Regions from separate parts of the Homo sapiens genome. Here all the other regions are linked to region 2. The links are contacts of gene promoters, found by promoter capture Hi-C in blood cells and fetal thymus (Javierre and others, 2016). All regions are on one chromosome and are shown on one strand. Each heading gives the region's core, a stretch centred on a gene start or on the middle of the fragment in contact. The rest is flanking DNA. Distances are from core to core; before and after follow the strand shown. Region 1 holds the start of NETO2 (neuropilin and tolloid like 2). Region 2 holds the start of N4BP1 (NEDD4 binding protein 1). Region 3 overlaps C16orf87 (chromosome 16 open reading frame 87).

Region 1 (3,515 bases), core at 530-3,029, 1.5 Mb before region 2:
CCCAGGAATGACTGTAAAAATTAGGAGTTAGAGATATGAAAGCCACAGGATGAATTTCAGAGTTGTTTTCAATTGTAATAAAGAAATCACTACGGATTTACGGTTTGTGAAATATTCATCAGCTAGAAAGTCCTAGGTTACCTTAGTACAAGCTGTAGATACGTTTACAGTGGGGTAGTTAAACGTTTCGAATTACTGAAATCTCAATTACGAATTTAGGAATATGTGGAGAGTAGACAATGTGTCCAATTAAAATCAAAAGCAAAATTACACTGAACTTTCTAATAAAACAAATTTGAAAAAAGTGCTGTTAGGGAGCAGGAAAAAAGTCACTCTACAAATATTAAGATACAGTGCTGAGTTATACATAACACCGTTAATAATGCCTCAGCCGTACCCTCGAAATTTTTAAAAAAAGAACATGTTACGACATTACAAACACGTCAGCTTTCAATTTAAATCAGCAGGGGGAAAAAGGGAAGTCCTTTACTGAGTGGTGGTGCTGTTTTCCCTCTGGAAATTGAAAAGACGATTTATTCAGTCCGAGTTTCAGGAGCAACTTTGTATCCCAATCCTAATTATCTATGTATATAAATTTTCATCTAAATTACCACCTCCTGGGAAATGCAAAGCCGGTGGAGTAGGTTTTAGAGCTCTGTGCTCTGGACAAGCCAACTGTTTTAATTCCCAGTACAACAAATTAGTAAGAACCGAACACCAGCGGCGGGGAATTCTGAGACCTCTGGCGGAGCGCGAGGAGCGCCGCGTCCCGGGAAGCACCCGAGCAGCAGCGCTCCCCGGGGGCCGGGACAAGCCGGGTCCGCGGCGCCCGCGCGCCGCCCCCGGAGCCCGCAGTGGTGCCGCAGCCTCCGTGGCCGCAGCAGGTGGGACCCGGCTGGCCCAGCAGGCCCCGTTCCCCGCCGCGAGGTGCAGGCGCCGCGGGGCTATTCGAAAACCACTGCACGACGTCACGGCCGCGGCTTTTATTGTTCTCGTGGAATTACTTTTTGCCATCACATCTGGAGAAAGAGCGGCCTCCGCTCCACGACAGGAATCTCACAACTTTGCAAAGGGATGCGCGGAATTCTACGGAAGCGGCGCGAGGGCGCAGCCCGGAGGGCCCTGCTGGGCCCAGGGGCCTCCTGGCCGCCTTCCCGACCCGATCCCTCTTCCCACACGCGCCCCGCGAACGTCGGCCGGACTCGCAGGGGTCGGAAGCGGCGCGCCCGGAGAGCCGGCGGAGCCGGGCAGGGCTCGCGCCCCGCGGTCCGCTCCGAGTAGCCGCGAGCCCCGCCAGACAAAGAGGCGCGTCGGGTCCCGGGCGCGGGTAAGGGACGCAGAGGCGCGGGCAGGGCGGCGCGCCAGCCTCGGCCCGCAGGGGGCGCCGTCCGTGGCCCCAGCCCCGGTCCTTACCTTTGAGGACCGAGCAGAGCCGCTCCAGGGCCATGTTCCCGAGCTGCCCGGCGCTTCGCGAAGGGCTGAGGTAGCGGCGGCGGTGGCTCGGCGCTCACGGCTCGGCGCGGCGGCGACGGCCCCACTCCGTCCCCATCGCCGGCCAGCAGCTGCCTCCCCGCTCCCCTGAGGAGAGCTCAGGTCCTGCGGCCCGCCATGCCCGAGCCCCACAGTGGGCTCCCGCGCGGCCCGAGCACCCCGACGGGCGCCGCCTCCTGCTCCGCGGCGCCCCGTCCCATCGACCGCCCGAGGGCCGAGGAGTGCGGACGCGCGGCGCGGGACCGGCAGGCAGCTCCGCCCGCGGCCCCGGCGCGGGATCCACTGAAGTGGCGGGCGCGGGGCGCCCAGGCTCATTTAAGGAGGGAGCGCGAGCGCCGCGTGCCGGCTGCGCCGCCTGTGCGCATGTGCCCGCCCCGCCCCGCCCCGCGCCGCGCCTCGCGCGCCCGCCGCGGCCTCGCGCCGTGGGACGGCGTCGCTCCCCGCCGGCTGCCGTTAGGGCTGGGAGCCGGCTGGGCGCGGGGGTAGTGAGGGTGCCTCTCGCCGTGGCTGCGCGGCGGCCTCGTCCGAGAGGCCGGCGCCGGGGCAGTGACCGGCCCGTGCCCAGCCGCCGCGCAGGGCGCCCGGGGCAGCTGGCCGAGCCCTCGATGCCTCCCGTCTGACGGAGGCGCCCGGGAAGCGCCGCCCACCTCGGCCCCGCACCCTCGCCGGCCTGCCGGGTCTCCGCCAGCCCTAGCAGACAGAGAGGGGCGCCGGTCCCTAGTCCCCCAGACCTCCATTCAAGGTCAAAACTTTGCCCAGCTCAGCCTTGCTCGACCCTGGGCAGGGAAGCGCGGACATCGGCAGAGGGAGCCCGAGGCTCTCCGTGCCCTTCGCGCCGGTGAGTTCCCGACCCGCGGCGCTGCCGGCGTTTCCCTAGCGCCCGCCAGGTTGACAGGCACTTTAGTACCAACTCCTCAGACTCCCCCTCATGAAGTAGGTTTTAGGGGATTGGAAAGTCGAGGCCAGAGAGGTGAAGCCCTTCGTCCAGAGCCGCGTAGCGAATGAGCGGCAGGGCTGTGCACCTCCCCCGGGGCTGCCCTCCTAGCAGCTAACCACTACGCTGGGCAGCTTCGCCAGCTGATGGGAGTCTCCAGGTCTGCCAACAACTGCCTGGCTGTTGGTGGTATTCATGATCCTGCTTTATTTTCTCCACAGCGGTTATCACACTGATATGACCTTCCTCATTTATTTATTTGTTCATCCTTTATATCTCCCTCACCCTCACACCATTAAAATATCAGCTGCTTGCAGGCAGGCCGACTGCATTCATTTTTTTCACTCCACACATACGTATTGGGTGTTAATTATGTGCAGAAGACAATGATTGGTGCTGGAGATAACAACCGTGATCAAGGCCTTACCATAATAGAATATTTATGCCTGTCTCTGCGTGTAGTAGGAACTCTGTAAACGTTTGTCTAACCAATTGTAGCTAAAGACAATGTCAGGCAACTGAAACATTTTTCAGGTGTTAAGCTCTTCTCTCTCACTTTGTATTCCTTCAAGAAAGGTACAAAAGCATAAATAATTCATGAGATTTACAAAGGAAAAACATACTTAACACCAATTAATATCGAGGTGTTTCACCCTTTGCCATGTGCTGTGAATGGGGGCATAAAAGATGGGTAAGTTTGGGTTCCTAAAGGTAACCACCTACTACAGTTAAGATCGCACACGAGAACCAATTAGGAAATAAAACATTTAAGAACTTTTTCCCACGGATATGAAAAGGTGGCTCACGCATGTAATCCCAGAACTTTGGGAGGCTGAGGCAGGCGGGTCACCCGAGGTCAGAGGTTTAAGACCAGCCTGGCCGACATGGTGAAACCCCATCTCTACTAAAAATACAAAAATTAGCTGGGCGTGGTGGCACGCGCCTGTAGTCCCAGCTACTAGGGAGGCTGAGGCAGGAGAATCGCTTGAACTGCACTCCAGCTTGGGCAACAGCGAGACTCCGTCTCAAATAATAATAATGATGTAGCATATTAGTAGAATAGGAGAGTAAGAAGACAATATTAAGTATA
Region 2 (3,116 bases), core at 613-3,112:
TAAGCTTTGAAGAACTACACAGCTGAGTGCCCCGTCTCCTTTAAGGATGTGAAATGCAAACACTCACGATTTTTTGTTAAATCTAAGAACATCAGGAGATACGACTACTCAGATTCAAGGACACTGACATTACTTGACAAAGCAGGATGCAAAAAGAGGGCCCTTCCTGCCCACCCCGCAGACAGGGCTCATCATATGAGAGGCAAGTATCAAGAACGAAGGCTCTGGAAACAAACTCCCTAGGTCTGAATCCTGCTGCCCTACTTAGGAGATGGAAAAACCTAGAGAAACTTGGTTACCTAGGAGGAGCAACATACTGTGTTGCTTTTTGGTTTGGAAAGGGGGGGAAGTAGATAGAGGTGCTGAAGAGGTCTGAAATGCTGATTTAGGCAGAAGGTGAGTCACCACTTTGAGTTTCAGTTTCCCCAGCTGTTAATTAAAAAAAAAAAAAAAGGCGGGGTGGTGGTGGGGAGGATAAAATCTACCTTATTAGAAGCCATAAGGGCTGCACATTCCTTCTGAAGCAACCTGTGATGTTCTTAAGCGTTATGTAAATGTTAGTTGTAGGTAATATCAATACAAAGAATAACGCTATTTTTTGTTAACATATTAAATATCCGGCCGGGGTGGCTCCCGCGTGTAGTCCCAGCACTTTGGGTGACCGAGATGGGAGGATGACTTGAGTCCAAGAGTTCGAGACCTGCCCGGGCAACATAGTGAAATCCCCTACCAAAAAAAAAAAAAAAAATGAGCCGGGCGTGGTGGCGCGCTCCTATAGTACTAGCTACTCGGGAGGCTGAGGTGGGAGGATCACTTGAGCCCGGGAAGTCGAGGCTGCAGTGAACTGAGACCGCGCCACACTGCACTCCACTGTGGGTGACAGAGTGAGACCCTGTCTCAAATAGAAAAAAATAGGTAAACATAAATCCTTTCTTTCTGACATTCTCCGAGCGTTTTATTACTATTAATAGTTTTTTTCCGATTCTCAAGAGGAACTGAGATCCCAAAAAGGCTCAGAACTGCAGTAGTGGAGGCCCGGGACTGGGGGATAAAGGCTTAGGTGGTGGACGAGGCTGCGGGCCCAGCAACAGGCCTTGCGTACCATCCTGGGGGCCGGGGAACTGACAACAACAGGCGACATGCGCAGCGCACCCGATCCGTGCCACACGCTGTGCCTGCGCTTCATACACATCCCCCACTTTCATCCTCGCGACAGCCCTCTGAGGTAGGTACTTTCGTCAGCGCCACTTTACAAATGGGGAAACTGAGGCTCCGGGGATCAAGCCGCTATCCAAGGTCACATGGCTCGCGAGCCGAAAAGGCACGTTCGCTGGCTCCCGAGACTGCGTTCCCAACCCAGGCGCATCGCGGCGGACGGCGGGGGCGGGGAGGAGCGGGAGCCCGGAGACCCGGACCGATCGAGGCCGCGGGCGCGCGGGGGCGGCGGCCGGACTCACCTTGGCGCTGTGCACCGCCTCCTGCGCCCCGCAGAGCTGCAGCCAGATGCGCGCGGGCAGCGGCTCCTCAGCCCCTAGCGCGCCGAGCACGGCTAGGCTCACGCCAAACAGGCCCTCGATACGGCCGCGGCTCTGCTCCAGCAGCTCCGCCTTCTCAGCTGGCGCAGTGAACTCGTCCAGCACCGCCCGGGCCGCCATGGCGGGCGCGGCCTCCCGCGGCGGCGCCGGGGGCCGGCGGCGGCGACGCCCCCTCAGCTTGCTGCCGCTGCTCCCAAGCCAGTCAGGCGGCGTCGGCCCTTCCCGGCCGCCTCGCCCCCGCCCGCGCCCCGCCGCCCGCCCTCAGGCCCGGCTATACCATCCCGCCACGACCGCAGCAGCTTGGCAATTGCTGGCAGCGAACCCCTCCGCCCCTTTGCCGCCGCCGCGGGCCGGGCCCCGCCGCCGCGCATGCGCCCCGGCCGCAGCCGTCATTGAGGCTCGCCGCCCCCTAGGGGAAGGGAGTAGGGTGAAGGCGACGGAAGTTGACGTCACCCTCAGTCGCCATGTTGGTTGAGAATAAAGGGATGGTTTTGGAGGCCTGGGCGGACTTCTTTGATGAGGGGAAACCGCTTTCGCGGGATCTGGTGGATGTAGATATATGGGTTTATAGTTGGGGAAACTTAATTGCCAGGAGGCGAGACTGAGAGTGTCACAGGGATTGGACTTGACCTCAGACATCTTGACGCTCAAACCAGGATTCTAGCAGTTGAGTTATTCAGTTTCACGTTAATCCACAGGCAGACGGGACTTTTCTTTCTCTGTTTCTTCCCTTCCTCCCTACCCTTTTACCTTCTTAGCTGCCCTTCTCACTTTTTTCTCTTTCCCTTTTTATTTCTTTCAGTAAAAATGGTAGCAAGAAGAGAAGAAAATGGGCATACTTACGGAGAATTGAAAATCAAAAAAATGATTAAGATAAATTCAAGAAGGCCGGGCGCGGTGGCTCACGCCTGTAATCCCAGCAGTCTGTGGGGGCAGAGGCGGGTGGATCACTCGAGGTCCGGAGTTCGAGACCAGCCTGACCAAAATGGAGAAACCCCCGTCTCTGCTAAAAAAAAAAAAAAAAAAAAAAAAAAAAAAAAAAAAAAAAAAAAAAATTAGCGCGGCGTGGTGGCACATGCCTGTAATCCCAGCTACTAGGGAGGCTGAGGCAGGAGAATCGCTTGAACCCTGGAGGCAGAGGTTGCGTGCGGTGAGCCGAGATTGCGCCATTGCACTCCAGCCTGGGCAAGAAGAGCGAAACTCCGTCTCAAAAAAAAAAAAAAAGATAAATTCAGGAGAGTGATTTCTTCTGTGAGGGAAGAAAGGGGATATGTTATGGGAGAAGCCCGAAAAGTGGGAGTTTGGGGGCTCACTCATGATCTTCCCTGGGACTGGAGCAAATAAACCCTAACCCCTCTCCAGGTCTGTTTTCTGATCTGTAAAATAAAAGAGTACACTCAGTTATCTCTAAGGCCTTTTCCAGGCCTTTATATTCTCTGAGTCCATGAAAACAGATTGTGGAAGATAAAGTGTTGGATTCCTTTCCTTCAGCTAAATATTGTGGCTATAGTAGATAGGGGCTCTGGGAATATTACCTCTCTCTGTTTTAATTTTTCATCTATAAAATGTAGATAATAATAG
Region 3 (3,143 bases), core at 367-2,866, 1.8 Mb before region 2:
CTTATCTGAAACTTTAATTATTTACAGATGTCAGACCTCATACTGGTCCTCTAAATTTCTTAAGGTTTCCATTCTGTTTTTTCCATCTCTTTTCAATTGTTATAGTTTCTGGAACCTTTCTTCAATTTTATCTTTAAGCCTTTTATTAAAGTTGTTCATTTCTGTGTATCATCTATGTTTTGGGGTTTTTTGGAATATTTTAAAGTTCATTTTCCAACTGGCTTTTTGACCTCTGCAATTTCCTTTTAAATATCACCTTGTTCATTTTACAATTACAATTGCTTCTTTTGCTAAAGATATTAATAGTAGTTTATAGTTTTTCTTTTCCCTGCAAAATCTTGCTTTTTTCCAAGTTATTTTTTCTCTCCTGTTGATTTGGTCTTAGCCTTTCATACTATAATAGATGCTTTCTTCCAGATATCTGGGTAATTCTTGGCAATATGCTCATATTTAGGAGAGTGACCAAAGAAGCTGATTAGAAACATACACATACGTGGAGCTTGACTGTAGTCATCAGATTAGGATGATCCAATTAGGCCACTTCTCTGTGAATCTCTAATGAGAGTATCTTTATTTGGGGCCTTTTCTCTTGGGTCCTTCGGATTCTCTAGAGAAGATATGTTCAAACTTTTTTACTTTTTTTACCTGGACGCTAATAAGCCAAACTCAAGAACTCAGCATTTACTATGTCCAATTTTCACCTAGGCTTCCTGATCTTAACATGGTATCCTGGCCGTCAACAGACACCTGGTGTTCCTGAGACCAAAGACTGTATTATTTACCTTTTTCAAAGGATAAACCTGGGGGATAAGAGGGTAAACAGTCCTGGTGGGCTACTCATAAAAAGACTTGCAAACAATCCTCTCATTTTTAGCCTCAATTTCACTTCTACTTCCAGACATAACTGATACACAAATTCCTGACTTTTAGGTAACTGTGTAATAAAAATCAGTTTCTTTCTTAGATTTCCCCAAAGGAGTTTAGAGCTAGATGTGTTTCTTCAATCCACAATCTTCAGCTTGAAGTCTACATTCATTTTTTTTTTTTTTTTTTTTTGAGACGGAGTCTCGCTCTGTCTCCAGGCTGGAGCACAGTGACGCGATCTCAGCTCACTGCAACCTCCGCCTCCTGGGCTCAACTGATTCTCCTGCCTCAGCCTCCCAAGTAGCTGGGACTAGAGGCACGCACCACCACGCCCGGCTAATTTTTTTTGTATTTTTAGTAGAGACGGGGTTTCACCATGTTGGCCAGGATGGTCTTGATCTCTTGACCTCATGATCCACCAGCCTCGGCCTCCCACAGTGCTGGGATTACAGGCGTGAGCCACCACGCCTGACCCATTCATTCTTAAGTTCATTAATATGATGTTCAGAACTGCCTAACATATTTTAATCAGTCAAAATGTCACTTCTATATTATAATATCCAGAATACCCTTATATATAAAACGAAGACTTACATTAGACTAACCAAAAATTGTTTAATGATTTGTTTTTATGACTTTATAAAGATATATTATTATGATGATGTCTAACAAGCTTTCCTTTTCCATTCTTCCTTCTTATTCTGTTTCAAAATAGAAAAGTCATTTTTCCCCCTTTGGATCTCTCATCTGACTAGATAGAAAAGTCCATTTTTAAGTTAGGTTTTTTAGACACATTGTCAGGTTTTCCTTAATTCATGGTTAAAATAAAGTTAAAGCTTGCTTCAAAATTTTCAAATGCTCTAAGAGCAAGGAATCAATAAAAACCAACTAAATAGCTATTTAGCACTAAGAAGCATATCCAAGAAATCTATCCTAAAACACAGACATTTCAAAAGTTCATGTTAGATTGGTATAAAAGTAAAACCGCAATTACTTCTGCACCAACCTAATAGTTCTTGTCCACATTATATTTAAGAGTACAATGGTTTACAACAAAGATTGGCAAACTAGGCCGAGTGCAGTGGCTCATGCATGCCTGCAATCCCAGCACTTTGGAAAGCCAAGCTGAAAGGATCCCTTGAGCCCAGGAGTTTGAGACCAGCCTGAGCAACATAGTGAGACCTCATTTATACTAAAAGTAAAAAAAGTAGCCTGGTGTGGTGGCATGCACCTGAGGCAGGAGGATCGCTTGAGCCCAGGAGTTTGAGGCTGAAGTAAGCCATGATCACTCCACTGCACTCCAGCCTGGGTAACAGAGTGAGACGCTATCTCAGAAGGAAAAAAAAAAAAGCAAGGAAAGAAAAGAAAGAAAGAGATTGGCAAACTATAGTACAAGTAACAAATGTGGCCCACCACCTGCTTTATAAAGTATTACTGGAACACAGGCATGCCCATTCATTTATGCATGATTTATGGCTGCTTTCCAGCTACAATGGCAGAGCTGAGTAGTTGTGACAGAGATAGTATGGCCCACAAAGCCTAGAACATTTACTATCTGGCTCTTTACAGAAAAAGTGTAATGACTTCATGGTCTACATAAGATTCCAGTTTGTGCTACAAAAATTAATTTAAGTAATTTCCTACAATTTGTATCAAAAACAAAAAAAAGCATATCTTACTCTAGAAATAGCTTTCTTAAAATTTTTCTGTAATAAACAGAAAATGCCTAAAAAATATTTACAGCTAAACAAATGCTTCTTTTTTCATGTAATCATGAAATAAAAGCTGAAATCCTGCATATATACAGTTCTACCACAAGTATATAGACTTCATTTCCCCAGCTAAAGATGGTCATTATCTGCTTTCTCATCTTCTCTCACCCACCACCAGAAGCATTCTCTTCTTTCAGCTGCATTCCCTCTATTTCAACTGAAAAGAATGTTGTTTTCTGAGCCAGGCAGTATTTCTCTCTTTTCCTTTTTCTCTGCTGACTTTTCTTTACCTAGTTTCCCTTCTAAAATAGGAGTCCTCGGCATAGGTTTTCTGCACCCTATTGTTAAAGAAACATACAAATTTAACAAATAACTCAAACCCTCTGGAAGAGCATAATAGAAAGAGAAAAGCAGTAAAATTACCCAAGGAATATGGAGTACCTTAGTACAGCCTTCCTAGAATACAGTCAAAACCGATATAAACCTTACTCCTTTAGCCATACAATACTAAGACACCTTTAACTTTGATAAAAGCTAGGAATGGCTATACTGGTGAAGCTGTTTTCT

Evidence for each region. The method cuts DNA at HindIII sites, captures the fragments that hold promoters and counts their contacts. A CHiCAGO score of 5 or more calls a contact.
Region 1: the fragment with the promoter of NETO2 here is called in contact with the fragment with the promoter of N4BP1 in region 2 in 1 of 17 cell types (total B cells); the score reaches 6.1 in total B cells.
Region 3: a fragment that was not itself captured here is called in contact with the fragment with the promoter of N4BP1 in region 2 in 1 of 17 cell types (total CD4 T cells); the score reaches 5.9 in total CD4 T cells.

What each region holds. Positions count from the first base shown.
Region 1 is chr16:47,142,166-47,145,680 of GRCh38, forward strand. NETO2 (neuropilin and tolloid like 2) reads right to left here and starts at 1,780. Exons shown (of 9, transcript NM_018092.5): 1 at 1,414-1,780. The coding sequence starts at 1,447. ITFG1-AS1 (ITFG1 antisense RNA 1) reads left to right here and starts at 1,903. Exons shown (of 4, transcript NR_110904.1): 1 at 1,903-2,329. RefSeq lists silencers at 761-910, 1,081-1,920, 1,981-2,310. The HindIII fragment of the contact is 8,905 bases long and covers 1-3,515 here.
Region 2 is chr16:48,608,318-48,611,433 of GRCh38, forward strand. N4BP1 (NEDD4 binding protein 1) reads right to left here and starts at 1,863. Exons shown (of 7, transcript NM_153029.4): 1 at 1,458-1,863. The coding sequence starts at 1,655. It overlaps LOC124903687 (a long non-coding RNA gene), which reads left to right and starts at 1,993. Exons shown (of 2, transcript XR_007065063.1): 1 at 1,993-2,201; 2 at 2,338-2,896. RefSeq lists enhancers at 994-1,043, 1,994-2,043, 2,054-2,133 and a silencer at 1,354-1,953. The HindIII fragment of the contact is 6,560 bases long and covers 3-3,116 here.
Region 3 is chr16:46,805,221-46,808,363 of GRCh38, forward strand. The region is part of intron 3 of C16orf87 (chromosome 16 open reading frame 87); the gene reads right to left. Among named protein-coding and RNA genes, the nearest start is that of C16orf87, 24 kb to the right of the region's middle. The HindIII fragment of the contact is 163 bases long and covers 1,536-1,698 here.